Regions from separate parts of the Homo sapiens genome. Here region 1 is linked to region 2. The links are contacts of gene promoters, found by promoter capture Hi-C in blood cells and fetal thymus (Javierre and others, 2016). All regions are on one chromosome and are shown on one strand. Each heading gives the region's core, a stretch centred on a gene start or on the middle of the fragment in contact. The rest is flanking DNA. Distances are from core to core; before and after follow the strand shown. Region 1 holds the start of UGT2A1 (UDP glucuronosyltransferase family 2 member A1 complex locus). Region 2 holds the start of STATH (statherin).

What was found. The method cuts DNA at HindIII sites, captures the fragments that hold promoters and counts their contacts. A CHiCAGO score of 5 or more calls a contact.
Region 1: the fragment with the promoter of UGT2A1 here is called in contact with the fragment with the promoter of STATH in region 2 in 6 of 17 cell types (neutrophils, M2 macrophages, endothelial precursors and 3 more); the score reaches 7.1 in neutrophils.

What each region holds. Positions count from the first base shown.
Region 1 is chr4:69,651,953-69,654,652 of GRCh38, forward strand. It overlaps UGT2A1 (UDP glucuronosyltransferase family 2 member A1 complex locus), which reads right to left and starts at 1,295. Exons shown (of 7, transcript NM_001252275.3): 1 at 1,236-1,295. The HindIII fragment of the contact is 6,501 bases long and covers 1-2,530 here.
Region 2 is chr4:69,994,442-69,997,328 of GRCh38, forward strand. It overlaps STATH (statherin), which reads left to right and starts at 1,525. Exons shown (of 6, transcript NM_003154.3): 1 at 1,525-1,584. The HindIII fragment of the contact is 2,895 bases long and covers 1-1,536 here.

The sequences.
Region 1 (2,700 bases), core at 45-2,544, 340 kb before region 2:
TCGAGGTTAAACGGGGCACTTCAGGTGCCCACTTGAGTCTCTTCCAAGTACGTTTTCCTTTCTTTCCTGTTCTAAAGCCTTTAAAATAAACTTCCGCTCCTGCTCTGAAACTCCCGTCAGTCTCATCTGCCTGATGCCCCCCAGTCAAATTCTTACTTCTGAGGAGGCAAGAATTGAAGTTGCTTCAGACCTGTAAGGATTCGCCACTGATAACTCAGATGCCTTCTACTGGTTAACAACTGCATACAAAAGGAGTTAGCATGGCATTCACATTAACACAATTGGTTATTGCTTTTACAACAGCATTTTCTTTAGAAAAACTTTATGTCCTTTTTTTTTTTTTTTTTTGAGACCAAGTTTTGCTCTTGTTGTCCAAGCTGGAGTGCAAGGGCATAATCTCGGGTCACTGCAACCTCCATTTCCCGGGTTCAAGCTATTCTCCTGCCTCAGCCTCCCGAGTAGCTGGGATTATAGGCGACCACCACCACACCTGTCTAATTTTTGTATATTTAGTAGAGACGGGGTTTCACCTGGTCTTGAACTTCTGACCAGAGGTGATCCACCCTCCTCGGCCTCCCAAAGTGCTGGGATTACAGGGGTGAGCCACCGCGCCTGGCCATTATTTTCTTTTTTTAATAAATAAAATTGATTTTGCATAAAACTTATTTGATTTATAGCATAAAACATTTGACTTATATTTAAAGTAAATAGATTTTAAAATAAATATTTAAAAATCCATTAAACAATATTAAGAAAATAAAATACCCACTAAAGATGACATCTCACATCCTCTCATTCATGTGTTGTCTTAAGGACCACAGTGGTCACTTGTGTACATTATTCTTGTCTTCACCATATATCAGTATAAAGTTTCTTATTTGTCACTTTATGTGTCATCTAATGAAGGAACAAACAACTCTCCACTGGTAGGAACAAAAGGCATGAGAAGAATCCCTAAAGAGGACTTTGAGTTCACACTTAGACAAAACTCTCAACTTACTGCTCTGTCCACACAGTTCCCTCGATATCTGTAAAATTATTTTGAAGTATAAAATCTGGGAGAAAAATCCATCAAATTATAAAGTAGAACTAATAATGCTTTCATGGGTAAGCAATGAAACAAACCAAAAGGTAAACCAGCGTTTTAAAGATTGATATTTCTTTAAGAAGAGAATGGAAAATAAATTAAAATATACATTTTATATTGATTATCATGAAGTTTTCTAGTTTCTTACCTGAAGTTTCCTGGAGGAACTTTAACAGCACTCATTTGACATTAGGAAGAAGCCGAATGTAAATAAATCCTAGGTGGATAAGCATAATATAATGAGTAATATGATCTTAAATGGAAAAAAGATTATGTAAAGTTGTTTATACTTAACATTTTCCACCCACTACACTGTGAAGCAGATTAACCTTTTGTCAAAGGTGTAACCTTCTGTTGGTTCCCTAGCAACTATTTGCCCTGAATTTTGCATTTACTATCATGGTCTCTGCCCCTACCCCAACTAACCAAGTATGCCAGGATATATCTAAAATAAGATTGACAATAATTAGTAATCTTGAGATTGTTATGAATAAGTATGAGCAATTAATATCCCTCAAACTTATGAAACAAACAATTATTATATTATTATGAAAAAAGTTTTAAAAATTAAAATGTCTTTATTTTTATTTATATATATATATTTTCCTGATTCATGATGATGAAAGTGGGTGGTTTGATTGATCTTTGCCATAAATAAAGAAGATAGTAATTTAGATAATGAAATAACTTTTTTAGAGTTGCACACCTTCATTATGCACCATCCTTGGGGAATAAAATTACTGCTGTTTCTTTGTGCAAATATTTTGAAGTAGCAAAAAATAACTTAGTATGTTTTTTGGCATAGCATCCCAAATATGTCATATTTAGTAATAACTAAGTACTGAGATAGAACATCACCACTTGTTGTTTTTGCTGATAAGCAAACTTATGGAAATGTGGAAATAAATTTCATACAGCTGATAAGTATGGCATAGTCCGGCAGAGACACACTTTGTATGATAACATTGAAGAGGAAATAAAGAAGAACAGTGGAGGCCCCAAGCAAGTCTTTAAGTTCAAGTCAGCTTGGATTGCATACATCTGACTACAAATATTCATCAATTCATGGAGTGCAAGTTCAATCTTGATAAAAGAGAAGTAATGTGTGTGTTTCATACAATGATTTCTCCATTTTGAATAGCTAATGTAATTAACTTCTCAGCTAAATAAAATGAGTCTTCATGCAAATATTTCAACATGAGCCCTCAAATAGAAACTTTTCTGAGTCTTTACACTTGCAGTAATATATCTTTTGCCTTCACACTTGGAACACAGCATGGGTGTTAATTAATATTTTTAATTCCTGTAGTTTTCACTCAAATCTATTTGATCATACTCTATTATCTTTTTATAATCCCAGTCACAAATACACACACACACACACACACACACACACACATTCCTTTTAAGCCAAATAATTGATAACTAATTTTTTTTTAAAAAAGCTTCTTTTCTGTTTGGTTCTCTGTACTGTAAAATTTATATCAAATATATTAACTGTAATATAAAAGTTTTTTTGCTTGTCCAAGATTTTTACTTGCTACAGGTGGTTAAATTTCTATCTAGGACAGAATGAGCAAAGCCAGTAACTGAAAATATTGAACAGCATGATT
Region 2 (2,887 bases), core at 275-2,774:
CCACTCAGAATGTAAAGAGATTGTGTTTGTTTTACACATGAGAAGAAACTTTGTATCTATAATGCTTATAAATCTCATGACAAAAGAATAAGAATAATATCTATCTAATTTAATTTGAATTATTTATTTGCCTTAAGAAATGATTTATATTTTCTTGTATATTACCCAGAGAGTAATCATAATTTCCAGTAAGGCTGTTCCAATACAGCATAAAAATTTACCTAATAAATACTTCCTTAAAAAATCTGATACAAAATTAAACCACAAATTATCTTTACTGGTTAAAGCCTAAGGATAACTAATGCATTCAAGAGACAAATATGTGGTTGTTTTTTTTTTTATGTTTTTGTGGAGATACGGGTCTCACTATGTTGCCTAGGCTATTCTTGAACTTCTATGCTCAAGCAATCCTCCTGCCTCGGCCTCCCAAAGTGCTGGGATTACAGACATGAGCCACTGAGACCAGCCTTGTTTCAAACTTCACAGTACCCAAAGAATCACCTGGAGATAATGTTAAAATGCAAACGCCTTAGGACAACCCCAAGATTCTGACTCAGCAAGTTTGCGAAGGTGGACTAAGAATTTACATTTCCACAGGCTCCAGCTGATGCTGTCTGTGATGTTCCCATATGGCACACTCTGAGGAACAATGCACTAGGCTGTATAACTTACCTCAACTTTATATATAAGTTTTTGATATTCGTTTCTTAGTACATTGAGTTATCCAACCAGCAGTGAGTAGGGTAATTTTTACACAAATTTTCCTAGGAATGTAATGAAAACATTTTTTCCTTCACTCTAGTGTAATCATGTCAACACATGGCTGCTATGGAAAAATATGTAGCCTTAAAAACTCCAGGAAATTAAATTGAATTTCCAAATACATATATTCAGTCATATGTGAGATATGTATCAGTGAGCACTTAGAGTCATTTCACCATAAATATAATAATTTTTTATCATATAGTACCCAAAAGATTACTGAATTTGGCAAATGTTTACGTTCACTTTGTAACTTAAAATATTCTAAAGTCAATAGAAGATGGTAAAAGTATGAGATAAATAATGATTTGAAGAAAAACTCTTGAAGTATATGAAGACTGTAATTTTATTATGCCAGTTACCACGAGTTATCAGAGAACATGTAAAATCTTGATAACATGGTAAGTATTATTTGTGTCATAGAGTTGTTCCACCTTGGACACATACTTGTGGAAACATCTTTATCACTGCAATTATTTCTATGCCTGGTTTCCTCCAGCATGCTTTTCTGTCATCTGACTCACTCAGCGCTAGACTAACAGTGGGATTAACATGCAGTGGGTACAGTTGTTTCCTGGTTACTTTGTCTTCACAATCATCTATTGCAAAATCACTTTGTTACGGTTATTTTTATCATTTGTAGAGACAGATTTTGGGCATTACTTTTAGTTTCCATAATGTGATCTCATAATTGCCATTATTTAACAAAAACAAATGGGGGACTTCAGAGTGTTTAAATACATTGGCCCTCTAGGGTAGCACATCATCTCTTGAAGCTTCACTTCAACTTCACTACTTCTGTAGTCTCATCTTGAGTAAAAGGTAATATGTTCATGTATAATCGAATATGTTGTCTTAATCTAGAGTGTTGCTTCCTAAAATCTTTTGAAAACTAATTATAAAAATGTGTATTTATGTAATGATAATTTCTCATAAAGAAACAATTGAGAGAAATGATGACCTTCTTAGGATCTGAAGGTAAGTTGAGAATCTGAATAACTATACATTGAAATCAGCAATCATCATGCAAAGTAAATAATGTGGAATATGGAGACATATTCCAACTTCTCTCCTGATGGAACTTCTGAAAAGCTTTTTATTTCCTTGTCTACGTACTGGCATCTACTCTGCTACTTACTACTTTTACCTTTATTCGAAGTTCATATTTTAAGAAAATAGCATACGTTCTCTTTTTTGCAAATGTATATATTGTTTCACAAGTTTAACTTTTAAAAATTTACTTTTTTCCCATAAGTAAACATTTCTCACTACCTTTTCATTGACCTTTCCATCATTTTAAACAGTTATGTCATTCTGCATAATAAAAAATGTTGTATAACAGTCATGCTTTACTGCCTTACTGTTTTATATTACTTAAGTTGTTTTCATTCAGTTGTGATATGGCAGAAAACAAAGATTTTACTATTTCATATTTTTATTATTTTTCATTGGGGAAATATTTTTTTAAAACCATGACATATATATTTATATATCTATGTCTATATATCCATCTTTCAGTTTATCAAGGTTAGTAAAACAAAACTACTCTTCTATGAGCATTTTTTGATTCCATACTTTCAATAAAATTTACAGGTATAAAATACACTAAAGTTTTTATGCTTTTTGCATCATAAAATGACTGATGGGTAGGTTTATCTATCAGGTGATAGAAAAACCCCAAAGTACATATTATTTTTACACTTACTCTAATACCAGAAATTTCCTTTTTTTTTTTTTTTTTTTTTTAATTTGAGACAGAGTTTCGCTCTTGTTGCCCAGGCTGGAGTGCAATGGTGCAATCTCGGCTCACCGCAACCTCCACCTCCCGGGCTCAAGTGATTCTCCTGCCTCAGCTTCCTAAGTAGCTGGGATTATAGGCACTCACCACCATGCCCAGCTAAATTTTTATTATTATTATTTTTAGTAGAGACGGGGTTTCTCCATGTTGGTCAGGCTGGTCTTGAACTCCTGACCACAGGTGATCTGCCCACCTTGGCCTTCCAAAGTGCTGTGATTACAGGCATGAGCCACCACACCCGGCCAGAAATTTCAGTTTGAATAACTGAGGCAAATCAGTGAATAAGTAACAAAGCAAATGCCATAAATCATGAGTTCTGCTTTATGT